5 separate regions of the Homo sapiens genome follow, and regions 1, 2, 3 and 5 are each linked to region 4. The links are contacts of gene promoters, found by promoter capture Hi-C in blood cells and fetal thymus (Javierre and others, 2016). All regions are on one chromosome and are shown on one strand. Each heading gives the region's core, a stretch centred on a gene start or on the middle of the fragment in contact. The rest is flanking DNA. Distances are from core to core; before and after follow the strand shown. Region 1 overlaps TRPS1 (transcriptional repressor GATA binding 1). Region 2 holds the start of EXT1 (exostosin glycosyltransferase 1). Region 3 overlaps TRPS1 (transcriptional repressor GATA binding 1). Region 4 holds the start of UTP23 (UTP23 small subunit processome component). Region 5 holds the start of TRPS1-AS1 (TRPS1 antisense RNA 1).

What was found. Contacts are between HindIII fragments. The CHiCAGO score rates a contact against its expected background, and 5 or more counts as called.
Region 1: a fragment that was not itself captured here is called in contact with the fragment with the promoter of UTP23 in region 4 in 2 of 17 cell types (total CD4 T cells and fetal thymus); the score reaches 7.1 in total CD4 T cells.
Region 2: the fragment with the promoter of EXT1 here is called in contact with the fragment with the promoter of UTP23 in region 4 in 10 of 17 cell types (naive B cells, non-activated CD4 T cells, naive CD4 T cells and 7 more); the score reaches 13.5 in naive B cells.
Region 3: a contact is called between a fragment that was not itself captured here and the fragment with the promoter of UTP23 in region 4, in 1 of 17 cell types (monocytes). The highest score is 5.2, in monocytes.
Region 5: a contact is called between the fragment with the promoter of TRPS1-AS1 here and the fragment with the promoter of UTP23 in region 4, in 1 of 17 cell types (monocytes). The highest score is 5.1, in monocytes.

Annotation. Positions count from the first base shown.
Region 1 is chr8:115,663,403-115,668,721 of GRCh38, forward strand. It overlaps TRPS1 (transcriptional repressor GATA binding 1), which reads right to left. Exons shown (of 7, transcript NM_014112.5): 1 at 5,143-5,319. Among named protein-coding and RNA genes, the nearest start is that of TRPS1, 2.9 kb to the right of the region's middle. RefSeq lists enhancers at 2,941-3,030, 4,068-4,187, 5,168-5,217. The HindIII fragment of the contact is 1,342 bases long and covers 1,260-2,601 here.
Region 2 is chr8:118,110,438-118,115,873 of GRCh38, forward strand. EXT1 (exostosin glycosyltransferase 1) reads right to left here and starts at 1,389. Exons shown (of 11, transcript NM_000127.3): 1 at 1-1,389. The coding sequence starts at 609. RefSeq lists silencers at 1,242-1,331, 1,432-1,811. The HindIII fragment of the contact is 5,337 bases long and covers 1-2,182 here.
Region 3 is chr8:115,422,353-115,427,915 of GRCh38, forward strand. All of the region lies in intron 5 of TRPS1 (transcriptional repressor GATA binding 1), which reads right to left. Among named protein-coding and RNA genes, the nearest start is that of TRPS1-AS1, 84 kb to the right of the region's middle. RefSeq lists an enhancer at 5,497-5,546. The HindIII fragment of the contact is 3,991 bases long and covers 1,992-5,563 here.
Region 4 is chr8:116,762,125-116,768,097 of GRCh38, forward strand. UTP23 (UTP23 small subunit processome component) reads left to right here and starts at 4,400. Exons shown (of 3, transcript NM_032334.3): 1 at 4,400-4,667. The coding sequence starts at 4,480. It also overlaps a transcript of EIF3H not described here. RefSeq lists enhancers at 4,317-4,466, 4,477-4,786. The HindIII fragment of the contact is 9,967 bases long and covers 1-5,391 here.
Region 5 is chr8:115,507,531-115,513,027 of GRCh38, forward strand. TRPS1-AS1 (TRPS1 antisense RNA 1) reads left to right here and starts at 2,073. Exons shown (of 2, transcript NR_186605.1): 1 at 2,073-2,196; 2 at 3,519-3,795. The region is part of intron 5 of TRPS1 (transcriptional repressor GATA binding 1); the gene reads right to left. The HindIII fragment of the contact is 3,034 bases long and covers 313-3,346 here.

The DNA.
Region 1 (5,319 bases), core at 681-3,180, 1.1 Mb before region 4:
GAGTAGGAGAGAAAGTTTCCTGCTTGTATAAACTAAACCACCAGGGAAGGTGTCTAGCCACTTGTAAAGTATTTACTGCAGGTTTTTAAAAGCTAGAAACATTTTAAAAATTAAAAGTTTTTTGTTATTATTTTTAGTGAAACACACTTAAGAACGACAAGTGTATCCTTAATGTCTTCTTTGGGGTGTCTTAATGTTATATTTGTATTTCAGTTATAGCTTAGAATCAGAAAATGATTTCAAATGATGCTCCAAATTTGAAGTACATAGATAATTTCACCTTCATTTTTGCTATTTGGATTTGTGCTCTTGGAAAAGGAAAAAAAAAAAAAAAAAAAAAACTGGGATAGCAAAAAGTAGACCGCTACGATAATAGCTGCTATATGCTGCAGGGACCAGTAGAGTTTCTTCACCTAACTAATGCTTAACAATTCAAATGGTTTTCACCTGTAGATCCTACTGCACCTTCAGAGATTCCTGAAGCTCAAAGATCTCTTTCTAACCAAAGTCAAGTTCTACATTATTGTGTCCATCAGAAAACCAAACTAAAGGCCAAATTCAGTTCTCAGGAATAGGAGAACAACTGAGCACTGTGATAGCTCAAAAAGTGATCATAATAATAAAATCGAAGATATTATTTATAAAGGTCATATATAATTAATAGAATATTTTATACAAACAAATGACTTTGGCCCTACTTACATCGGAGGATAAATTTTAAAAAGTAGTTACATCCTCTGCAGCACTGTTTGCTATAGAACAATGGTATAAAACAAGATTTGGTATTTTAGCTTATTTACTTTAATCCACTGGTTACAGCTTTTGGGAGACAAATTATTTTTAAAATTACACTAAAACAAACCTCTACATAATTTTTAATGTAAATAATTGCAAAGTATGTTAGTCTTTTCTATACATGACAAGCACTCTTAAACAATTAGATTAAATGTCTACTTGGCAAAGGCTAGAAGACCATCTTTATGCTATATCTAAGGGGGACTCAAAAATTCCATAAATCATAACTATTATGGTAACAAAGAATTTACTTATTTCTGTATAATAACAAAAGATAAATGTCATTTTCACAGATAAGCCATCAAAGTAAACGCAAGTCTACGTATGCTGTCATTAATTTCCCAAAACTTCAACAAATGGTAAATAAGGATGATAAATGAGTAAACAAGACTCAGAATTAGTTATCAATGGTATTAGCAGTTATCATCAGCAAAAGAGGGAGAAAAAGAAACCTATTACCTGAAAGCTTGACCTAGCAAGGATGAACAACAAAATACGAGCCCATAAAACTTGCGGGTTTTTATCAAATTGATTGTAACTTGTGAGCTGCAATATTTGGGACAGAACTGTCTGAGTTTATAGTTTTCTATGCCTGCTAAAAACAGATGCAGACTACCACACTAGCTGTCCTGCGGAAACTAAATTAAGGAAAGGCAAATACCAAGTGGAAAGTTGTCAGCCTGTTGAATGAATGGCTTCATTTTACACACCAGAGAAATCTTAATAAGAATATGTTTTAATGTAAGCCAGTCATTTTAAGTTCATCACTTATTACAAAAATAATCTTTCCTTTAAATCAATTATAGACACCTGCCCATAACTTTCTTAAAGTCTGTGTTGTTGTACACGTAATAGCATAGTGTTGTTACATTATTGTTGCTATCAAAAGAAGAACTGAAGTTAAAATATAATTATTCTAAAATATTCATGTTATGAAAAATGTTTAAAGGTCAGTTATCAGCATTTATTCCAATTTCAAATTTGGAATAAAGTTCTAGTTCAAAAACAATTTGCTGCAAGTCCTCTGGAAACTTTCAGTAATGTTTATTTACAACAAAGAAGGTAAGACAAGCGTTTATAAAAATCTACAGTCTTTGGTTGCTTTCTTAATAAAAATGTACACATCATTAATCACATATTGTGGGTTGTATGTCTGTACACACATACACATATACATCTAATAATAGTAGTGATAATAGAACCGTCACTGAAATACTAGAATCGTAAAAGCTGCTTTTCTACAGATGCATGCATTTCCCTGTTTTAAAGGTCTTCCTTATGAATGAATATTTCCTTATAGGAAGAGATCTATATGATGTAAATCAGAATAAACTCAGGAGTGGTAGGTGACTTAAATAATACTGAAAATATGGTAGTAGTATGTGTAACTTATTTCGGATTAGCACACTGATTCCGATCCTAAACTGGTTTTCAAACACGTATGCAGAAAATTTTATAAAATCATTTAAAATATTAGTCATCGAAATGCTAAGTTCTAAATTCAGCTCAGACTTCACAGCTATTATGACATTTTTCTCCTTACCTTTAACGTTACCTTTAAGAGACAAAGGACAAAACCTAAATAGTAGCACAGACCCTTACAGCATCTAGAATTCAAAGGAGTGACAAACTTTGTGTTAGTAACTTGCTACTTTCCACCACTTATTTGAAAAGTGTTAGACTTAGGTATTATGTATGGAAAAGCAGTCTACACATATATATCCTAACATATAACATACATATCAGGAAGCCATAAACATCAGCTCGCCAGTGGTAAATAATACTTCGCCAACAGAGTACTAATGAAGCTTCAGAAGGCCTCACATTCAGAGAAATCAAGTTATAATGTTGGTATTAAGGCTCTATTTGCCCCTCAGGAGTTTTATTTTCACATTATTAACATCCAGAAATAATCGTCAAACTTTAGCATGTTACTAGCCCTGTATATTGAACTGAATCTAGAGATGTTTTTATCCAAAGGTGTAGCTTTAAAAGGAAGTTATGAAATCCAAGGAGAGAGAAACTCTAAGAATATGTTTGACTTGTTAAGATTAAGCATATCATTAATAAACTTTCACTTAAAGGTAAAAAAAAAAAATCCTCAAAATGTTGGTATCATTTCCAGACTGTCCTGTCAGCATCAGAACTTACAGGAAACGCTTCATCTTCCCATACAAACCCTGTATTTATTCACAACCCTGGCATACTTGGGGAAAGAAAAAAAAAAAAGCCCACACGATTTTAGATCCTGTTTGCTTTTATACGTTAACTGGTGGAATATCTGAGAGAGCCTTCTAAGCAAATGAGCGGCATGTAAAACTTCACAACAGTGAGTTCAGAAACTTTCATTCTCATTTTGTCCACGTCAAGAACTGGCTGCCCGCATGACTTTCCTCTGCTGTCCCTTGCATTTTTAACTCTGGCAGCCTTTTCTAAATGATCAACTTTTTCTAAAACCAGCAGGAAAGTAACATGATGCCAGCAAGATCCATAGGTTTTAGCTTCAGAGCTGGAGGACTTTGAAGAATTGTTGGAAGGTTCCTATTTTATTTTTGCTTTGAACAATCAAGTTTTAGCCAACAACCAGGCCCAGAGTTATCATTTCTTTGTAATTTTGTCTCAGGCCCTATCTGTATTTTTCTTTTGTACTTATTATCTCTCCCAGACCCTTTCCTTTCCTGTTCACCTGGTGTGTTTACAAAAGTTCAATGAATCTACAAAAGTTCAATGAATAGGCCTAACTTGTCTCAGATTTAACTCCTCCGCTGAGCTTCTCACTTCACTTACCTCGCTTAAACTCTAGCCGTGATTTTCCAAAATGGCATAAGAATGAATATTCTATCATAATTTAGATTCATCATTAAGATCAATGGCTTACTCAAAAAACTTTCAAAGCATCAAATATGAGGCCTAAAAAGATAGAGGGAAGTAAAGCCGGTCCTAAAATTTAATAAGTCCAAGATTCCCTCTGAAACCCACCAGTCCTTCTCACCCTCTAACTTAAATTGCTTTAGAGTCCTGGGGCCATAAAACAGTTGCTGACTTCCCTGGGGAAAGGGGGAAACACCACCATCTCAGACAGGTACTAACGAAAAAGCTTTCCCAGCCACAAAAACAGCTTTACACTTCAAACAGCTCCCACCGCCGCCTCACCCTCAAATTATTCCTGGGGTCCTATAATCCTGGAGTTATTTGGAGGGACAGCGATGTTTGCCTTGGCCTTTCAAAGATGCGTTTCTCTAGATCCCAAACAGGAACCAGACAGAAGGCAAAGCGTCTGTCCGCTTGGATGTCCCACCGCTGTCAGGCATTTAATCACCGGCCAGTGTCCCCTGACCCGCGCGACACATGGCGCATCAACCGCATCGCAGAGGAAGTCTGCCCCTTCCTCAGCCCCTACGGAAGCGCCCGGGCTGCAAGGCCCTGCCACATGGTACGGACAGGGCACAGACCGCTCGGCCAAGCTGTCCTGAGCCGCTCTGAGGCGGGTGCACCAAGGGATGCGACACCCGCCTTCTCCAGAGCCCAGCTGGGCCTTTAAGGGAAAAAAGTTTGAAGCCTGCATTTGCAAACTCTTCAAAGCCAAAGGCAGTCCTGTGCTGTTTTCCCACTTTGGAGACCATACGGAGGCCCGTCTCTGAGACCCTCCCGACCCTCCCGAGTTCGCCCAACTTACTACTCTGCATGCTGGTGCCTAGTCTGCGCCCCGCTTGTCACGAGCCCCCAGAAAACTTGCAGTGGCGGCGGCGGCGGCGGCCCCTCGGGTCCAACCACCTCCAGCTCCTCCGCTGCGCCCGGTAGGAGAGAATTAAAATCAGCCAGAAAGAGACAGCGAGGGGGAGTGGGGCTGCGAGGGGGAGGGGGCACCGGCCTGAAACTTCTTTTTTTGGCAAATGGGGATTTGTTTTTCCTCCTCCCCGGCGGCTGAACTTGACCCTGCTGACTCCAGGGGCTACTGCAGTTTGAAGTCGCTGGTTTCCAAAGCTCAGATGCCTCAGACCCACCAAAAGGAGGAGAGGAAGGGGGAAAAAGGGAGCAGAAGAGAAGAAAGAAAGAAAGAAATCACACGCTCAAAAAGGAAGAAAGAAAATGCATGTGAAACCCGAGAAGCCTGCGCTTGGCTTTCTGCACACTCTCCCTCTGCTTTTTTTTTTTTTTTTTTTTTTTTCAAAGAAAGTCACTTTTAATTCCCAGGGCTCCCCGCTCGCGATCGCCCACATTTTGCGCGCACACGAGCGGGCGCTGCACTCGCGTCGCGGCGCCCCGGGCCCGGCCGAGGGGCGCCCGCGCCCCCCGCGCCCCCCGCAGCCCCCGGCCCCGCGGCCCGCTCGGGCCTCCCCTCCTTACCTGTTGATTAATCGTCAAGAACACCCTCGGCAGCCCGAAAGATGGTGGCGCGGCGGCCAAAGCCATGAACCGTCTTCTGTTGTTTGCAGAGTTGATCTTGGATTATTGCGGGGGGGAGAGAAAAAGGTCTTTCCTGCCTCCCCCCCCTTTCCCTCCCCCACCCTTATTAAAAAAGAG
Region 2 (5,436 bases), core at 139-2,638, 1.3 Mb after region 4:
GTAGTCAGGCCAAGTGCCGGAATATAAATTAAAAATTAAATGATTCCTACCATTGTTCCACAAGTGGAGACTCTGCACTTTGGATCTCAAATTGTGCACATACTGAGGTGACAACTGGTCTCTGTCTAAAGTATCCAGACTCAGGACAAAGAGGCACGCCTGGCTGGGGTCCGAGGTGTAGAACCTGGAGCCCTCGATGGCCGCTAGAATGTTTTGGTAACTTTCGGCGATTTTCTCCCCTTTTTGCTGTGGGTATACGTAGACTTTGAAGCCGTTTTTCTTGCAAAGGGTGAAATCGAAGCAGGACTCCATGCGGCACTTCTTGCCTTTGTAGATGCTGGAGTTGGCATCTCGCTTCTGCCGGGGGGAAATGTGCACGCTGGAATCCTCGTTTTCCAATTGATCCCAAGGAACGAAGGGGCGCAGAGCGTCCGGGAAGCGGGGCCAGAAATGATCCGGACTGGGGTGGTGCAAGCCATTCCTACCGCTGTGTTCTTCTCTCCGGCTGTGGCTCCTCGATGCCCTAAACTGCAAGCCTCCGAAATAAAACAAAAGGGCGAGACAAGAGCCAGCTGAGAGCAGGATGAAATAGCGTTTTTTGGCCTGCATGTGTCCTGCCTGGGTCAAGAGGATTGTAAATAAACACAAGAATCACCCAAGTTTCCCAATCAACACTTTCAGCTCCAGTCCGCCATCTTCCCGCCTGTAAAGACTTCAAACTCTCCGCTCCCACCTTCTCTGGATGCCTTTCCCCAAGCCGTGGACTGATCCAGCGCATGTGGGCGATTTCTTTAACTTTCTCCCCTTCGGTCTTTCATCTTTGGGTTGCACAATGCACGGGAGAGAGCGGGGCTGAATATCTCGCACCCAGGGCGGGCGAGCAGCGGACTGTAATTTTCTTGCATGCAACAAGACGGAGGAAAAGAAAGAGAGAGGGGAGAAAAAAAAAGCTCCCGATACCCAATCAATGGCAAGACGAAGTGATTGCCTTGCCTCTCGGATTCCTCTCGGCAGCGTGGAAAATGAGCCCCGGGAAGGCAACTTCAACTCATCCACCACTCTCCGTGCAGAGCACTCCGGTTCCAACAAGTCAGCCGATCCCGGGTTCAGCCGGCTAGTGCATCTTGCAGCTGGGGCGCCGTAACCTCACAAATCCCTGCATCTCTCTTTATTCCCTTCTGCAGCGGCTCCAAGACTCCGGCGGTGTTTACTCCTGCGCTCGCGGGGCCGGCCCCCGGGACGCGCGGCGGCCCGGCTGGAGGCGGCGGCGGCGGCGGCGCTGGGTGGCGGCGGCGGCGCGTCCTCCCCGCGGGCAGTGCCGGCCCCGAGCAGCGCTTCGCAGGCCCCCGCGCGAACGCTGCCGACCGCCGCGTTCGGTCGCCGAATGTTACCCGGTTCTGAATGTTACACTTACACATTCCATTCCCGACACGACAGCGCTGACCTCATCCATCCACGCAGCCCGCGCTGCCATTGGCCGAGCGTCACGTCCGGGGGGGGCGGTGCTTCCGCTGCGCCCATTCATAACCCCCGGCCGCGGGCCGAGGCGCCGGCGCGGCGTTGGGGGCGTAGGGGGCGCAGGGAGCCGGGGCTCCCGGGTTGCAAGCTGCCGGCGGGCTGCCGGGCAGGTGGAGCGCGGGACGGCCCGGTGCGAGCCCCGCGGCCCCTCGGCGCGCCCAGGCCCGGATCTCGGCCTGCGCCGTGCCGGGGACCAGAGGCGCCTGCGGAAACGCGGCGGCCGGGGAAGGAGGCACCGGCAGGGGCCCCGTGCCGCGCGGCCCCGGGCGCCCTGGAGAATCTGGCCTCCTGGGCTGCCTGCCGGAACGCCTAGAGAAAGATGCTTTGAAGGAGGGAAGCAGGGAGGAAAGGAAGACTTCATAGAAAGCGACCGCCGATCCGAAAGCTGCCTCTCCCAGCCCTCCTTCCACTCTCCGAGACCCAGTATTTCAATTTTCTGCTAAGCATTAAAACAATCTCCCCTTACTCCTCCTCTACATAGCACATTTTTTTAAACCAAAGAAACACCCCAATGCCCAACAATAAAGAGGAATTATTACAATCAAGAGGAATTGTTGCAATTCTTCATGCCTGCCTCTGTGCTAAGAGTGTAAGACGGCTATCCTAAATCCTCATTATCTACTTAGGCCGCCTTGCCTGAGCCCCCTCTGTCTATTATGAAGAAAGCTTCCAAGAGATCCAATCACAGAGAAAAAATAAATTTTCTAATGGCTGCAGGGAAACCAGTTAATTTAAGCTTGCCCCAGTCCTCAAAGTGATGTTATTCTCTTGGTGGTGGTGGTGGTGGTGGTGGTGTTAAAGATATCTCTTAAGGACATATGACTGGTAGAATTGCCAACTGTCCCAGCTATAGAAGGAACACTTGCATCAGGAAAACTACCTTATGTACAATTAGTGCCAAATAGTTGGTCCTTCCCTCACTGACCTCCCACTCCTTGGCCCAAGCTCCTGCCACTCCCAGTGGAAGAACTTCATTAGATAACTCAGGTAACCGAGGAGCAGTCCCGCTAAAGATCCTCCAGGTCCACAAAGATGTGCTAGGCTCCCAAACAGTATCTCTGGTCAAAGTCAAACTCCCTGGCCTCAGATCCTGAACACTGCTTTACAGAAAACACCTCCCACCCTCTGGCCTAGCTAAAGTCTCAGGGCTCGGGCAAGCTAGACAGTTGCCTAGGGCAGCCGGCTGTTTAGTGATTGTTTATTATGGGAGTGACTGAGAGCTAGGAGCAGACACTTCCCGGCTTCCCTCAGGCTGCAAAAACCCCAGCGGGGTGTGGATGAAGGGCAGGGTTATAACAAGGCAGTATGAAATGATAGAGTGGAAAGTTTCAGACCTCTGTTGTTTCAGATTTGTTTTAATAAAGCAGGGAAGGGGCATGGGTGGGACATTACTATACATTCGTGAAGCCTCTCCCTATTTCTGACCTGCCAAAGATGAGACAGCTTTTCCAGATTTGACTTGAACCCCCTGCACAATGTAGAGAGGCCTGGGACAGGAATAAGGATTCAGTCATCTTCCAAATACAGTGACAATGATGCAGATAAAGGCAGTGATTGAAACCACATGTGACCCAAAGCTCCCCCCAGCCCAAGTTGCTAAGAACAACAGTTCAAGGCAGGAGGCCTTCTCTTCTGATCAGGGTGCAGATTATCTCAGCCCTGTGAAGTGGGGCTGTGGGACTGGAGGTGCTCTCTCTCTCTCTCTCTCTCTCTCTCTCTCTCTCTCTCTCTCTCTCTCTCTATATATATATATATATATATATATATATATATGCTGGAGTGCAGTGGCAGGATCTCGGCTCACTAGAAACTCTGCCTCCCAGATTCAAGTGATTTGCCTCCCTCAGCCTCCGGAGTAGCTGGGATTACAGGTGTGCACCACCAGCCCTGGCTAATTTTTGTTTATTTTTGGTAGAGATGGGGTTTTGCTGTATTGGCAAGGCTGGTCTCGAACTCCTGACCTCAAGTGATCTGCCCACCTTGGCCTCCCAAAGTGCTGGGATTACAGCATGAGCCACCTCGCCTGGCCCCTCTATATCTTGCCAGTTGTTTTGCATGACCTTAGGGGGAGCTAGCTACCCTCCTTGCTCTTTTGTGTTCTGTTTATGTTTTGGCATGTGCTTCCTGCTTTTCTTGCCTAATTATGGCTAATTTCCTTATCCCAGACCCCAGTGTTACCCATCTCTACTTGTACATCCCAAAGTGTTGTGTACTGTCAGAAAAACTTTGGTGCTGACAATTAGAGAAAACTTGAATTCAGACCCCAGATCTGCCATTTACTAGTACCTTGGGCATGTGGCTTAATTTCAGTGGACCTCCAGTTTCTCGTTTGAAAAGTCAGGATAATAATATCTTTCTTGCCAGCAGTTTTTTTTTTCTTTCTTTTCTTTTTAACAGAGTCTTGCTCTATTACCCAGGCTGGAATGTGCAGCAGTGTGGTCTCAGCTTACTACAACCTCCACCTCCCGGGTTCAAGTGATTATCCTGCCTCAGTCTCCCGAATTGCTGGGATTACAGGCAACCGCCACCATACCCGGCTAATTTTTGTATTTTTAGTAGAGATGGGGTTTTGCCATGTTGGCCATGGCTGGTCTCGAACTCCTGACCTCATGTGATCCGTCTGCCTCAGCTTCCCAAAGTGCTAGGATTATAGGCGTGAGCCGCCGTGCCTGGCCTCAATTTGTAAACTGTAAATTGCTCTACATGTGTAACACCATTAGCCTAAGTTCCACTTTTCAAACTCCAACTGTAATCTTAAAAGTAGCCCCTACAATGGTATCATCATTTTGTCTCCTCTGTTTTATTTTTTCCTAACCCTTATTAGCTGAAATCTCCTCTGTTCGTTTGCTTGTTAACTTTTCACAGTAAGGAAGCCCCTGAGAGGAGGAGCACTGTTTGTCCTACTCACTCCTTTATCCCAAATGCCAAGGGCAGTACCTGGCACTTAAGTGAAGCTCAATCACTGATTCAAATGAATGAATGACTTAGTAAAATTCAGCTTCATCACAGCACTTGTACAAACTCGAAAAGAAAGAGCTCATAAGTACAGGCAACAAAAGCAAAAATAAACAAGTGAAATACATCAAACTAACAATCTTCTGCACAGTCAGTAAAGGAAACAATCAACAAATGAAAAGGCAGCCAACAGAAGGAAAGGAAATATTTGCAAACCAAATGCTGATATGGGGTTAATATCCAAAATATACAAAGAACTCACACAACTCAATAGCAAAAAAAAAAAAAAAAAGCAAAGGACCTAAATAAACATTTTTCAAAAAAGACATTCAAATGGCCAATGGGTATATAAAAATGTGTTCAACATCGTTAATTATCAGGGAAATACACATTAAAACCACAGTGAGATACTACCTCATACCTATTAGAATGGCTGTAATCAGAAAGACAAAAGATAACAATGGGGCAACATGAAGAAAACAGAACCCTTGCACACTGTTGGTGGGACTGTAAATTCATATGGCCATTGTAGAAAATGATAGGGAAATTCTCAAAAATTTAAAAGTGTAATTACCATATATCATCTAGCAATCTTACTTCTGGGTATATATCCAAAGGAAATGAAATCAACATGTCAAAAAGATATCTGCATTCCCGTGTTCACTACAGTGTTATTCACGATAACCAATACGTGGCAACAACCCAAATGTCTGTTGATTGATGAATGAATAAAGACAATGTGGTACATATATGCAATGGAATATTATTCAGCCATAAGAAGCAGGAAATCCTACCAGTTGCGACAACAGGGATGAACCTTATGCTCAGTGAAAGAAGCAAGATATAGAAACACAAATACTGCACTTCTGTGTGGATCTGACCCATATGTGGAACCTAAAAAAGTCAAACTCACAGAAGCAGAGAGTATAATGGTGGTTGCCATGGTCTGGGAGTTTGGGGCAA
Region 3 (5,563 bases), core at 2,737-5,236, 1.3 Mb before region 4:
ACTCCTACTTTCCACACTTTTTTTTTTTTTTTGAGATGGAGCGTTGCTCTGTTGCCCAGGCTGGAGGGCAGTGGCGCGATCTCGGCCCACTGCCACCTCCGCCTCCCGGGTTCAAGTGATTCTCTTGTCTCAGCTTCCAGAGTAGCTGGGATTACAGACGCCCGCCACCATGCCTGGCTAATTCTTGTATTTTTAGTGGGGTCGGGTTTCACCACGTTGACCAGCCTGGTCTCCAACTCCTGACCTCAGGTGATCCACCGGCCTCTGCCTCCCAAAGTGCTGGGATTACAGGTGTGAGCCACCGCACCCAGCCCCACATGTATTTTTGAGAAGGAGCTGATGCCAGGTACTTGCTAAGTGCTGGGGGCAGCTCTCTTTTATCTTTAACATTACAGTCACAAATTGCTGATGGTTCTATCTGTGTCTGTTTATGTTTAAATAATAAATTTCTCCTTTTCCCACAAGCTGTCTTAAGAGACAATAATTTGTACCTCCATCACCTCGTGCCTGAGAGGGAAGAATTATGGGTCATATGGATAAGATCAGTGCTGGGAGGGAAAAAGGATAGGAATAAGTAGCTAGCCGATAACACCAATTGGCATTCCTGAGGGGCATATATAGCACAAAACTTTCTCTCCTCTCAGACTGAGGGAAGACTGCTCACTCACACATGTAAAGCCGCAAAGAGTAGCTGCAATCTCTGCCCCTGAACTTCTCTAAGTTCACCTTCCACATCTACGTGGTTTGAACAGAGGGCAAGAGTGAAGGAGGATTGGCTGAAAACCCAAAGCTACATGAGGCAGCTCAACTAAAAATTGCTACAGAAAAAATTCTGGAATCAACAATTCGAGAAAATGATTGTTTGCTTTTCTTTTAATGCTTTGAGCAGTACAATTTAGGTTGCATTTGTGTTGTCTCCAGGCCATTTCCGTTGGCTGGTAATTTCCTATGTGAAAAAGGATGAATAATGGTACAAACAGTTAACTGCAAGGAGTTTCGAAGCCAGTGATTGCCTGGCAAATGCTTTTCAGTGATAACTGGCCTGTCTTTTGAGCACTTGATCCCTTTCGGTATTTCAAATATTATAGCCACAATACTGATTTTCACAGCAGCAATGTAGGTGATGGATCTGAACAATCATCCAAATAGATATAGAAAATGACATACCTAACTTTTAATATGAATACCCTTTAAATCCAGTGTAATTTTTTCCTCCCCTTTAGAGTAAACCAATAAGTATAATGACTAAGTATTTAAAACAAACAAACAAACAAACAAAACACAACACCTTTTGTCTTTAGGTTCACGGCTAACACCAACATGCGGGTAACAATAGTTGAAATTTTCTCTAAGTTTCCAATTTAAGTTTTGCTTTTGGGAGACTTAAATCTTCAGTCAGCTATATAACATTGATAAATAGCTGAGCCTTGGCATACATGTTAGGAAACCCAGATATGACTTAAGACATTTTTTTTTAAATTTTAAATTGGGTCGGCTGTTTTTATTCCTTATTTTATTTTATTATTTGAAGACCAGCCAAATATAAAAATTTTAAGGTTTCCAAATCTCCAAATTTTGAAAAGGAACTGATTTCATCTGATTAATATGAAGTAAATTTGATTGAATGATTTATTAAAGTGGCTTAACATTTACAGACATGGATATTCATCTTCAAGATATTAAAGGTTTCCATTGGTGAAGGAATTTGTGAAGAAATGATCTTTTACAATAATTTTCTATGAATAAGAACCATACTGAAACCATGTAATTACATAACAAGCCCTGATAGGCAGAATATTTACTCACATTTTTTATGGTTTTATATCTTAGCCATTTTAAATCGAATCAATCTGAAATCTGATTTATATAATGTTAGTATGAATATACCTCAAATATTTTTAACTCTTTAAATATTTTCTGTGTTTATCTGATTATATCAAAAAGTCTTTGCAACATTCATGTTAGCGAAATGCATAGATGGTTATGAGCAAAGCTTCTGGTACGATTTCACAGTAATACAATTTCAGTGGTAAATTAAGTCAATTAAGTTCTGGGAGTAATTATTGCGTGTCCACCATGTGCCTGGCACTGTGCTACAAGCCAGGGTCACAGCGTGAGACAAACATGGTCTGTAATCTTGCAGATTTTCCAGTGGAATCTTCTAAAAACATACTAATTATGGAGCTAAAGCAACACAAACAGAAATTGTTCATGAACATTGACAGCTGAAATCATGTGAATTACGTGGAAACTTTCCTGAAGATACCAAAGTATTGCCCATTCATAAATCTCATTTAGAGGCTAAAAGTTACCTAATAATCAGAGGGGTTACTTCCTGTGCTCCTTTGTAAAAACGTGTAACAGTTTAAGTCACTTCAGAAACAAATTAATACTTGCTTATTTTCACATTAGTAATAATGTCCTATCAATCACATTGTTCTATTAATTACCAATAGAGTTGACATGACTTAATGTGTTCATGACTGTCAGATATGTAGTTGATATTCAATAATTGTTGATATTCCATAATTCAATAAGTGTTGAATATTATTTTATTCTTATCTCTATCATGCGCCACTAGGAGACATCGAAGGCCATGTCCCTCCCCTCTTCCCCTCCAAAATAGAATTAACCAGCTGTTGACTACACACCAGTAGACCCTATGGAATATACTGAATTCAGGAGCTAAAACAACTTAAAAATAGATGGTGGTTTGCAATAAACACCTTTAGATTAATAGCCAGACTCTTACCAGGAGCACAGGCTGGCCAACAATTGAACAAGACCAGGGAAAGCACTCTGCCAACAGAAAGCAATAGTTTACCAATATCCTGGCCAACTTTTGTTTCAAATAAAATTGTGAAGAATCCGTTGAAATGGGCTGTACTGCATGTCTTTGCCTGCTTTAAAACAGTCCTCTTTGCCCTCAGATTTCTTGCCAAAAAACTGAAGGGACTCTATCAGGTTCAGCCAAGCACCCATCTTATAATCACCATAGAGCTTGGAAACAAAACCTGTTTACCCTGCTTATTAAATTCACTTCCTCAACACATCAGCAATGATAATGGAGACCAGTGTAAACTAAACTGGCATCTCTGGCTAAGAGCAATAGAACAGTTTTTGTTCCAGGACATGAGGCAATACATACTCCAGTAATCATACCTTGCACTGAGATATGAATGCACCTAAGACTTATCCCACTGACAATGTCGCCACATAGGGAGCTACCCGATATATCAGGTAATGCTGCTGTGCTAAACACATTAGCTCCATCTCTTCTGAGATGTAACTGGTGATTCTCAGAGTGAAAGAGCAGAAAATCACTATTTCCCCATGTATATCCCACTCTTTATTCATACAGATTCTTTACATCTCAAGGTTTTAGAAATTTATCACACAGATATAAAACCTATTACACAGATCTGAGGACCCCATCTCCCTTCTTTAACTAACCCCATATTTGGTAGCTAACCCTGTATTTGGTAAAGGAGCAAACCAAACACCCTGTGTCATAATGAAATTACATAATAGAATCAGAATTGGAAAAACCCAGATTTCTGGAGTTCTAACCACGCTGTTTCTGTAATAATGTTCTGCCTTTACAGCAAATATGCATTTGGACAGCTAAAAATATGGTTGAAAATTTATGTCTGCACTGTCTTTTTTTTCATTCCACGTGAAAGTCATTATTGTTAAAAGAACTACTCAAGTCTCTCAGAGCTTCTATTTTTGCCATCCTGTATGTGTTTTCACCCTTCCTTCAGCTACAACAATGGCTGGAAAGTAGCTCTATGGGGACTTTCTTCTATGCCAGTGCCAAAATCTGACACTGGAAGGAAAAAAATACTAAAAGGCCTTTTGGAGGCACAGTTAAACAATTTTAGCACCTCTTAAACTTCAGTGTGACAGCACAAGAGTTGATTCTTCTAATAAATTTGTTGCATATTTTATTTATATAATATATTTAATAAGCAGATTTATTCTGGGATAGGTTCATATTCTAAAAATAAAAATATCAGCGATGAAGACCTTTCTAGAAAAGTCCTAAAAGCCAAAAGTCTCAGCTTCTAGGCATTTAATTAGAGAGTCAGATACAGTTATTAATATTTCATGTATTACACCTTTTTAGGGCTGCCTTTATAATATATAATGGTTATTTTGGGAAAAAACAGAAAAAAAATCAATAATTCTTTTCATAGTATCTAACATAATAACTGGTTTATGAAGTGTTGCCACCCTCGAGGCAGCTATATACAATTCAGTGGTTCCTCGATGGTTTCTCACACTCTTGGGGATCATACAATCTTTTGGTGAAATGTATGACACTCTCCAGAAAAAAATAAAGTGTAAAATATTTACAAATAACTTTAACATGGTCAAAAGCATGTCCCTCACAAAATGTATCCAAAGATTTCCTGTGGATTTGAGTGCCGACTGATCCAGATCCCAAGGTTAAGAACTCCTAACACATATTATCCCAGTTCAGATTTACGGTGAATTACTAATTACTATTACTCTCCTTTTATTGATGAAGTACAAAACTGACAATAGTTCTTTGACTTATCTAGCATCAAAGAACACATTCTGGTCTCTAAGTCTAGGCAATATGACAGGATCATATTCTAAAAAGCATTTTTGGCCAGGCGTGGTAGCTCATGCCTGTAATCCCAGTGCTTTGGGAGGTCAAGGTGGGAGGATTGCTTGAGGCTAGGAGCTTGAGATCAACCAAGGCAAACACAGCAAGAACGTGTCTCTACAAAAAGTTAAAAAAAAAATTAGTTGGGTGTGGTGGTATGCATCTATAATCTGAGCTACTCTGGAGGCTGAGGAGAGAGGATGGTTTGAGCCCAGGGGTTCTAGACTGTAGTGAGCTATAATCATGTCACTGTACTCCAGCCTGGGCAACAGAGCGAGACACTGTCTCTAAAATAGATAAATAGAAAATTAATTAAATAAAAAAGAATTTTTGAATCAACTATTTAATAGAATACTCTTGTTTGACTATCTTTGTCCCTTTTTAAATAATCATCATTGCACATATGTTTGCAGGATAACATATGATAGGCCTAGTCTCATTATCTGATATCCTCAGAATGATCCTAAGAGGCAAGTATTATTATCATTATTATTATTATTCCCTCCACTTTATAGATGAGAAAACTGAGGCTTAGAAGCAATTTGCAACTGCTGAATAGTAGGGCTAAGATATAAACCCAGGTTGCCCTCACTTCAAAGCCACAGTGAACCATGTTTCAGGCCTTATTACTAAAGAGGAGATTGGGGAATTTTTACCAAAAATATTACACCATATCCTGGCCTTAAAGAACGCTTATCTCTTCAAACCACCCAATAACAGCTGATTGAAATTATGCAAGTTTTGAGGTACCAGAAAGAAATGAGTCATCCTTCATCAGATATGGCAACGAGCTGTTTTGAGGTCGACAGACACAGTCATAGCCAGAGGAACAGAGCACTTGGCTGATGGAGGGGGCAGTGCTGGGGAGGGGGGAGGGGTGCAGTACATGTGTTTTGATCCTGCTGTGTCAAAAAAAATAAAAAAAGT
Region 4 (5,973 bases), core at 3,150-5,649:
ATTGTATTGACTGACATCAGCTAACATCAAGGTCTCATCAAACATATTTGTTCATATAAAATTATCTAATTCTGGCAAGTAGTTTTAACTTCCTCTATCATTTAGCATTGAGTTTGGCTACATATAAAATAAACTTATGATAACTTTTTTTTAAAACCAAGGTAGAAGTTTATTTTTCTTCTCATGTAAAAGAAATCCAGAAGTAGAAAGTCTATGTTTGGAAAGACACTTTCACAGTTGCGAGCGATCCAAGCTCCTCTTATCTGCTTTGCCAGTGTTAAGTGAATGACCTCCATTCTCAAAATTACCTCATGGTCTAAAATCGGTTGCTGGAGTTAAAGCTATCACATCCAAATTCCAGGGAGTAGGAAGGAAGGAGATATAAAACACAAAAGTGCCCACTGCCAAGCTAAGTTGACTTCCTTTAAGCCGGCTTCCCAGAATTCCATGCAACACTTACACTTACATATCTTTGGCTAGAACTTAATCCTGTGGTTCTACCTAACTGCACAGAATGCTGGGGAATGGGCTGGCTGCTGTGGCTCACGCCTGTAATCCCAGCACTTTGGGAGGCCAAGGTGAGCGGACCATTTGAGGTCAGGAGTTCGAGACCAGCCTGGCCAGCCTGGCCAGCATAGTGAAACCCGGTCCCTACTTAAATATACAAAAATTAGCCGGGCATGGTGGCCTATGCCTGTAATCCCAGCTACTTAGAAGGCTGAGGCAGGAGAATCGCTTGAACCCAGGAGGTGGAGGCTGCAGTGAGCCAAGATTGTGCCACTGCACTCCACCATAGGCAACAGAGCGAGACTCCGTCTCAAAAAGAAAAGGAAAAAAAAAGAATTCTGGGGAATGGATTTGCTTATCTGGGCACATTACACTCCAGAATAAAATCAGGAGTCTATTCCTACAAAGAAGAGAAGAGATATTGGGTGAAAATTCATAGTCTGTGTCATATCTATTATGTTATATTTGGTGGTTTTGTGAGAAATGTCATGCAGCCATTAAAAATAATGAATGAGAACTCTGCCAATTGACTTTGGGTAGATGTGTGTAGGGATTTCTACAGGATTGTTAGGTGAGAAAAGCAAAATGTATAGAATTGTTAAATATGATTCAATTTCGCATAACAGAGTATCTCTACATAAATATTAAATTGTATATATATGCATATGATATATCAATATGTAAATATGGAAACATTGCCAAGAGATACATAATACATCATCAAAGTGTTATCTGGGCAAGGGGAGAAGAAATTACTATCTTCATGTTCTTCCACTTGTTTTAAGAGGCATATGTTATTTTTGTAATTTGAAATACATAAAGTTTTTGTTATTTTATTTTATTTTAAAGATTATTTTAAAAAGTGACAGCCTCCATATCTGACCTTTGTAACACCTTCTGACATATTTGAAATTTCACAGTAAGGCATTCCATGATGGAGCCTATCCTAGGGGATCTTAGCGAAGAACCTCATAGGACCTCAATACAAAGTGCTTTACCTAAGTTGTCGTAAAATATTTATTTAGCTAAATTATTTATTTAGGCAGTATGTTAGATAATGTTAGGTAGAAATTGTTTTTGAGCTAATGAATGTTAACAAATGTTTATAAATATTTAGATATGAATATAAGGAAGAATAATACCACAATAGATATGTTAGCTAAATTGTCTAACATTTACGAAATTAAACAAAATTATACTAACATTGATGAAATTCAACAAAGTAACCTTTATGAATTATATTTAATGTTTACCTCTTTAATTCCATTTAGGCCATGAATCTTTCATGAGAAAGTCCTATTTGGGAATTAGTCATACGTTTCAAAAATAAATTATTCTCATGTCAACTTGGCTTCATCAAAATTTCATGAAGAAAAAAACTTCAAAATCATGTACAACAGCATAATATTATAAAACTATATTTGATCCAGACATAATAAAATGAAGAACATAAAAAATAAAGAAAAATAAATTAATCGCCTACTTACTCCAGCTGAATGTGGATTTCTATTTGGCATGGAAAATGTCCAGTGGACTGACCTGAGAAAAAAGCTAAAAACTAGCAATGCTGTTATAAATTATTGTTCCTTCAGTATAAGGTCAAAAAAATTTCAATGAATATTAAATATTTTAATAATGACATAACTTTCAAAATAAAATTTCAGATTTAAATTTATATCCAAATGGTTCACTCAATAATGGCAGTATTTGGCTTCTGCCTTGGTTGTGGCTAAATATTGATTTTCCATTACAGATCATTTGGCATCTAAACAAAAGTGTATTAAGTGGACCAATTAATAAAAATATCTTATTGGATAAACGATGCTTTATTACAAAAAAGGTCCTTCAGGAACACTAATGAGCATAATAATGATTTGGGGAGATTGTAATAAATGTCACTTCCTCTTTGAATAGTACCCCTCTCCCTCAATACTTATTCTGAATCAGAAATGGGCATTTTAAACAAGCACACTAAGAGCTTTTTCTGCATATCCCAGGACCTTGTTTTGAGAAACACTGCTGTAATAGAAAACTCTATTTTTTTCTCTTTTTGTCTTCTTTTAATTTAGCAGAGACAGGGGCTCCCTATTTTGCCCAGGCTGGTTTCCAACTCCTGGGCTCAAGTGATCCTCCCGCCTCGGGCTCCCGAAGTTCTGGTATTACAGGCATGAGCCACCATGCCCGGCCGAAAACTTTGTTTTAAACTTGATAATCACCATTATAGACCATCTTCATGTTTTCATAATAAAGATAGGGTGCAAACTGGCACTGTCATATACATAGAGCTTGGGGAAAAAATGTGCTGTAGCTTGGTAAATTAAAAAACGACAACAAAAACTAAGATAAGACTAAAATCCCTAGTGCTGCACCACATTTTTCTTAGTACTGAAAAGTGGCCAAGGAGCTGGTAGATAAATCTGAGGCTATTTAAGAAAAAATGTTTTAACTGTTTTGCAAGACTCAGGTGGTATCTCGTTTCTCTGTCTGTGGTGGGCGCATAGTTGGAGTAGAGAGTTGGCATACAGGGATAAAAAGAGGATTCAAATTGAAAAGTACTGAGCAATTACACTCAAAGACCTTGAATCCAACCCTGCAAAAGTTTTCATGGCTTCCAATTCCTAAATTCATTTTAAGTTTAAATGAAAGCAACCATCTAAGTGATGTGCTGGGACTCAGATCAGGGCTAACATTATAGATCTTATTCCAATTTCATAAACCTACATATTGAAATAAAACCCCAAATGCAAACAATGCATTCAATCACGTTGTAAATCATTTTCTGTGCTGGTTCTTTCAATCTTTAGCCAAAACTAGATCTGGGACAGATTCCAGGCAAGGACAAAAATGCAAAATTCCATACTCCCCATTCTTTGATTATTTTACCTTGAAGTGGATACTCGACAGTTAGCCACGGGAGAACTTGAAATTTTCTGATTCATTCTCCTCATTAATCAAATTGACCAAGTAATTTTTAAACCTCCAGTCAGCTTTGTGCCTTCCTGTTACTGGCCCAGTATGTAGTCTTCCTATGTCAGAGACCATGCACATAAAAAGAGTACTTGAAACTTATCTAGACCTACAACCAGTTTGACAGTGAGGAAGTTGAACCCAGCTTTCTTCGGGAGTTGCCCAAGATCAAACGGCTTGGGTTTGTGGCAAAACCAGGACTCAAGGTTAGGAATTCTGACTCTAGGCAAACGAAGCTCTTGAGAGTTCTTCCAAAACACTCCATGCGAGTGATTTAGGATGGTCCTAAGGCAGGAGGAAATGCAAAATGGTGGCACCCTTTGCCCTGACAAATGGTTCCTGAGTGACGTTAGTTTCTATGGTGGTGTAGCAAGAACATTTGAACTTCAGGCACGAAAACTGGGTTCCAGACACTAACAAACTACGTGCCCTTCGTGAACGTGCTTAATTTCTTTATGGGAAAGCAGCCAGTACAAACCTCCCCACTCATAGCTATCCAATATATCATTTCCTTCTTTCACTTGGGAATTATAAACATTCAGGGGAATAATGTAAGGTAAATCACTTAGGACAGTGTCTGGAACATATTAAGGCTCAATATTATCACTGACTACTACTATACTGCCAGTCTTTCAGAGAAGCTCTTGCTACGCGCCTCTAAAACGTAGGTAACACGCTAAATGTATTCTCGTAATTTTCTTTTACCGTGGCCCCAGACTGCGCATGTGCGCCCCCGTGCGGAATCGCGCACCCCAGCGGTTTTCCAGCGTACGCACAAGTTCCGCCCTAAGGGACCGCCCCTTTAAGCGCGGGCACTGCGGTGGAAGCGCGCGCTGGTCTGGACATGACGTAAACCAATGGGCAGGCCCGGAAGACAGAGGCGTTTGCTTCCGTGGCCAAAGGCGCTTCATTTCCGGGTGAAACTGGCATTGAGGGTACTGGGGCGTGCGTGAGGCGTTTACTGATGCTTCCTGGTCCGGTGGCCTCGGTCCCGGTAAGCCAGGCATGAAGATCACAAGGCAGAAACATGCCAAGAAGCATCTTGGCTTCTTCCGCAACAACTTCGGAGTCCGCGAGCCGTACCAGATCCTGCTGGACGGCACCTTCTGTCAGGCGGCGCTGCGGGGCCGCATCCAGCTGCGGGAGCAGCTGCCCCGCTACCTCATGGGGGAGACGCAGCTGTGCACCACAAGGTGGGCCCGGGGGGCTGGGGAGGAGGCACAGAGGGTCCGTCGGGTGTTGTAGAGGCGAGGCCGTTGCTCACAGACCTTCATTGCGAGCTCAGGAGGTGCAAAACGCCCCGCCCACGTGGAGTTGACAGTTAAGTGGAGAGGTGAAGGTGGTCAGGCGAATACCTATAATAGAGGCAGATTGGACAGTGCCCTGTGAATATCACGTGTCGTTAGCCTGGCGAATGAGAGCACATTATAGCAGAGAGATCCGACTTCGAATCTTGATCCCAGTTCTACCAGCTCTGTGATTTCTGTCAAGTTATTTAGCCTCTCTGAGCCTCGGATTCCTCATTTGTAAAATAAAGATGATAACTGCTTAGAAGATTGCTGTAAGCTCAAACGAGTATAGTGTACTAGAGCATTTTTCGGTATCCAAAGTGTACCCGTCTTCAAATGGTTGCTGTCATTTGCATAGCTTTTCTTAGTTTAAACCAAAACTCTGCAAGCCTCACAGTGAACCTGTGAGTTACCATCTTTGATGTCCAGGGCAAAAAGTCAGTACTTGAGATTAAGGAATCTGCCCAAGCACATTTGTTTATTCAACTCGCTTTATTAAGTACCTCCTATATGCCACATACTGCTCCCTCATGGCCAGTAAAGTGCATAAGTCAGTCTGCAGTGTGTGTTTTCACTCTAGGTCTGATGTTTCCCCACTTCATTGAAATGTGGGAACACTTAGGATGGAAGCTTGTCGGGATGAAGAGGAGAGAGGAGAGAATTGTGACAGATTTCAGATAACATTTGAGCCCATTCACTTGTTCAGTTCTGAGAGGAAGAACTATTTTGAATGACAGAAAAGAATGACACTTCTTGTTGTGGAGACCTCTTCACACGAAATGGAGTTATGAAATGCCTGGGAAAGAGGTTGCAGCACAGAATATATTTGGGAGTGAAACTAGGAAGAAGGCAAATTGAGGCTAGGCCATGAAGAACTATTAAGAAATTTAGTAGTTTTTTCATTGTAGAATATTTACTTTTAAAAAGCAAAAAAAGAAAATTAAAATGACTCATAATACCACTACTCACGAATAATCACTGTTAACATGTGCAGTGTCATCCATCCAGTTCTTTATACACACTCACACAAGCACAAGAATGGACTTTTAAGCCAGGCAAGGTGGCTCACACTTGTAATCCTAGTAGCTACACAGGAGGCTGAGACAGGAGGGTTGCCTGAGTCTAGGAGTTTGAGGTGAGCCTGAGCAACGTAGGAAACCCCCATCTCTAACTACAGCCATAACAAAGTATGGGCTTTTTCTGTGTATAC
Region 5 (5,497 bases), core at 823-3,322, 1.3 Mb before region 4:
CAGAAACGACTCATCTACACGCAACTTTATCCCGGACCACAGAGCACCACAGACCCAAAGTCTCTCGTCACCCATACAAAGCTTCACACAGTACAAAAATCTATAAAACATTCCGCTAATATTACTGTCAGCTGAATGACTTTTACAGTACTATATAAAGTTGACAGATAATACATGCCAGTCCTAATTTGAGATAGACCTTTTCTTTTGGGACCTCAACCATTGAACAAGCAAACAGATTGAGAAGTAACATTTATTACAACACATAAATCATTTTCTTACAACTATTATATAGGTCTGGCCCGAGGGTGAAGCTTCTGCCTAGGCTGAGAATCCTAATGTACTGCTTAAGTCACTAAATTGTACTGTCATTGCATGATTGGTGTGCAGAGAAGAGCTAATCTAGCTTTTCAGAAACAAGTTCTTATCAAGATAATTTTTGTTCTTTGTTCCTTGAAAAAAATGCTAACAACTTGCCTGTCTAAAATAAAAAAGCAGAACATAAAATAAAAAATCAGAACATTGGTGACTCTTGAATAGTAATGACCACCTTAACATGTTTATTTAAATTAAGCCAATGTGCCCAGTTCATGTAGAAATTTAGTTCATGTAGAAATTAGTGCATGTTCAAAATGAGAACAAAATCTGTGTTTACTACAAAGATATACAAAGAACTTTTCACTCTGAAGATAAAACTTGATGTATATCACAAATATAATGGAATCAATATTGATGGCACGAACTTTCCTTTGAGAAATAAACGCCATTTTAAAGATTGAACAAAGAATATTAATAGAGAATCATCATACACAGCTTCAAGAATTTCGCCATTCTTTTTAGAGTTGACTGAAATAAAAATTCTCTACATTTCCTGTCAAATATTGTCGTAGTACTGTCCTCAGCCGAGGAAACGAATGTGCACTTCATGATACAGTAAATTTCTCTAATGCTCCTCTAATAGCACCATGTTGGAAACACATGAGTTACCTAACATGGTGAGCTTATATTTTATATCAGTTTGCTTTCCTCGATCATCTGATCATCTTGGCCTCCGTGGAGTCTTCTAATTGCATTTAGTTCTGTTCAGTTCTGCTTGAGGATAATCCAAAGGATGTCTGTTTTTCATCAGGTAACGACCATTAAATTTGGCTGCATTTCCTTCTAAATCTTGTTGAATGGCATAAGAAACAGAAGCTAGAAAACCTTTCTCTTGTAACTTTGCTATGGTTTCTGAACCTAGACCTTTCTAGAATTTTTGCTCACTACTGCAAAACTCTGAGGCCAGATCCTTTTGGAAGTGAGTCTAAATGGTCTCTAAACTTTGATCTACTTTCCCTGGGGGTACTTAAGACTTTGGGGCATCTTTCTGCATACCCTGGAAACATTTGGACTCTATGTAAAGTTGCCAGATAATTTCTAAAATGTTTTGAATTGTGAGTTTATGTTTAGGCAGCATTTGGGGCTTTCCTTCTCTTGAATTAAACAAACATCTTGGCCAATCAAATACTCTCCCTTAAAAAAAATCTTAAAATTCCTCTCTGTGGCTCCTTATACTGTATTAGTGTGTAAGGCTGGAAAGAAATGTGTCAGATCATTTCTTTTTTCCTGTATGACAACAACCTAGAAAAGTAATGATAAATGGAGTCTACAAGGTGTTTTCCCTGAAGCCGAACTCCTTATCTCTTTAAAGAGGTATAAGAGTTCCTATTGGAGCAGGACCTATTCCAGGCAAAGCTGGGAATCACACTAGGCTTCTATTTATTCATTTAATCATCATTTATGGAACATCTGTTAAGTGCTAGGAATGTTATTAAGTGTTGAGGCTATGGAGACAGATAAAAAATAAATACCTGTCATTAATGAACTCACTGCCAAGTGTGGGGAAGGGTTTGGTGAATATCTCAGGAATAATCAGTGAGTGTGGCACATGGCAGGTGAAATATGTTAGTTTAGGCCAAATATTAAACCTAAAGAATCCAATTCAATTTTTGTTGGTATTGTCAATTTTCTAATCATCTGCAATGCAGTAAATGGTTCCTTCAAGACTAATTAATGTTCTTATCATTTTACAGAAAAGAAAAGTAACCAAACCAGAATTTGCACTAGGGAAGTTTGAAAGAAGTTGATCCATTTTGAGAAGAGAGTTACAGAAAACAAATAAGGAACCCATTGACGTCCTAGTAGGCTGAGCTCGACGTGAGTGATTCTTCGTTCTTTGGATTCTCTCTCACTCAATATCCAGTGTCTCATGGTGCCTTAGGAATTTTCCTTCCATCTGTGTTTTATCTTTGCCTTTATCTCCAATGCCTAGGCCACCACTCTGCTGTCCTGCCTGCTGTAGCTTTACCCTGGAAGTACTCATTCTTCAACAGGTTTCCAGAGGTCTCTTCCCGCTGACCTCCACCTTTCCTGCCAATATTGCAGTAGGATTAACCTGCATGAAACATTTTTCTCATTTGTAAACATCAATGGTTGAACCCTGATTAACAAGGAAAATTCAATTTCTTAGCTTTGTATTCAAGATTTTTACTTCCCTGACTCCAATTCTATTTCCTAAATGGAAAAATCTCCTGGATTCAAATTAGCCTCTGTGCATCCTCCTCCAGCATCCACATTTTACCCAGTACATCCCACTTATCTTAGGCTCAATTCAATCGTACATATCCTAAGTAACAGCAAACCAACCTGTGTCATACCCTTTGCTTTATTTTTAAAGAAACACTGGATCTGTATAGCCATATAAACATATATTCCAGACTTGGCTGGTTATGGACTTATCCTTTATAATGCATTTTCAGTGGCCAAAGAGCCTTTTAAGAGTTCTTAAAATTGTGCAGTTGCAGACACTGAACTGATTGATCACTCATGCCAGGGCTCAGGTCATCCTTCTATAATTCAGGCTTTACTCCAAAAACTATTAATCTGTTCTTCCTAAGCTATAAATCTTAAGCTATCTATTAATAAAAGTCAGTTCTCTGGGGCTTCGTCTGTTAGACCCCCAAAAGAACATCGAACTTCTAACAATGACACTGTTTCTCAATCGTCAATTTCTTATTGAAAGAGATTTTCATTAAGATTGAAAATCTTTGGCATTGAGTCATGTTTCATCTTTGACCTTGGCTTTTCCCAATGTATTTCACATCCTGAAAATAAGCACCTTCTTTTACTTTTTTGCACAGCTCAACAAGTCAATTTGGAATTCAACACAGATGTCACGTTGCTTTATTTGTCAATATTAGATGATTCTTCTTGCCATACTGAAGCGTTTTGTGGAAGGCTATCTATCCTTTATCTCCATTTTGAATGCCAAGGTTATCAGAATTAGTTCCAGACACAGATATTAGAAAGCTTCATTCAACTGAAGAAATAAATGTAAAGAATTTTCAGGATGTAGTAAAGCAATACTTCATCACTAATTCATGCGCTTGTCTCAAGGACTATTAGTCTTATAGTAGTTTGTTTTACTTTTTTTGTTCTTTACAGTTATCCTTTATCAAACTATTTGGTTTTCCTTTTAGGTCACTTCTTCCACAGAGTATACACGTCAAGAACTTAAAAAGCATTAACTTCTGCCAGATATGAAATTATTGTCTTTCTGGTGGAGAAAAGGAGCCACAGAGAGGTTCTAGGTAAAACATGGACTTTTGTCTCTTTTAATGTGGATTATCTGCTAGAATAAAATTTAGTAGATGTCTATAAATTTTCTACATTACTAGAATGCTGTTCAATCAGATATTGTTCAAAATAAATCATACTGCTGCTGAGAAATATTTTTCTCAGGAGACAACCTAACCAGAATGATATGTGTGCATTGTATTGGCCTTTGATCAGCAGTACTTCTTCAATTTTGTTTTGGTCCATGCAAAAATGACCAACGCTCCCTGTTATTGGGTGTCTATGTCATTCATTCTCTTTCCAGCACTGCCCTTTCTTGGTGCCCACAGCTTCAATCATTTCCTATCTTTTTCTTTCTCTTCTCCAATCTAAAATTGACTCTGGTTGCAGTATAACAAGCTATCAATTTTGGAAGTGACACCTGTGGTTCTAGTTGCCTAAAATCCCTGTGACAGAGTTGGGACCTGACAAAGACCCACAGCGACCTGACAAAGATCTGACATATTCTGGGTTTCCCCAAAGGGCAACTGACCCTTTGGTTTATATGATAAAAGTGAGAGGACAACAGTTTATTCAACTACAATAAATCTAACTTCTAGGGTGAATCGCTTGCAAGTTAAATTGCTAGTCAAGTTAAATAATAGGTGACATATCAAAAAGATGGATAAGACATATTTCTACATATAAACTATATGTGGTAGAGGACAAATGCACTCTAAAATTTAAAACTTTTATATCACATACGAAATGTATGAACATACAGCTAAATCTTAATATGAATCTTAATATGATAAACCAATGTAACATATCTAACATACGACTAAACAAAAGCTCTGTCCTTTAGAAACTATCGCATCAACGTGTTGCTACCATCCCTAAATACTAAAAAATTACCTTCATTCTCAAAAAGTGGCAAGATTTGTGGCTGTCACTAAGGGTGTGTAAGCATTTCCATTTAAAATTTTCTATTTTCAGGGTTTTATAAAAGCTATAAAAATTCTCTCCAAGCTGAAACTTGGCAAACAAGAACTCAGCATGAGGACAATTTTTTAAAAGCCTAAATTTAAAAACAGTATGTTCATGTACTTTTTTAAGCAATAAGAGGACAAAAAAGGAGAGAAGTTTTTTAGGTTTTGGTTGCCTTTTAAAAAAATCTGCATTCCTTAGGAACTAGTTTGTTTTTAAAAAAGAAAATTTGCGGACTATAAATTCAAAGCTTGGCCTTATTTCTTCAAGAATTGGACATAAATGAACATAATTTAAAATGGACCCTATCATAAAGAGAAGAAATTCATTGTTCTTAGACAACTATTTCTAGAAATAACTGTATCATTCTTCCCTCTAAAATGAATGTGAAAAATAGAAAATTATGCTTCATGGTTTTTTTTTGAGCTAAAAAATTCATGCTCATGAGTGAAAAAGTTCAATGAATCACCATAATATTTTTGGCCGGAAAATACTATGTATTTTATCTGTCTCCACCACCAACTACTATATATATATATGAATATTTTCTGTATTTGGCATTATCTATCATACTCTTAGATTTTGGTCAAAACTTACTCCATTAAAGTTTGTGTGTGCATATATTGAATTCCATAAATATATGGTCATGTAAGACTACTGCATACTTGCCTACAAAAATCTGTCTTAAATATATATCTTAATGGGATTAGTTTACTATTGCAGAAAAGACATATCAATATACATGTGAACTTTAATTACTATTTCATCTTCAAAAACATTTAACTCCTTTTTCCCAAGTATTGTTATGGGGAATGGGAATGACACAAAAATGAATAAGGCATGGGACCTGTTCTTAAGATACTCATAATCTTGTGGTGGATCTAACCACACAAAATGTAAACACTTGTACCCACAC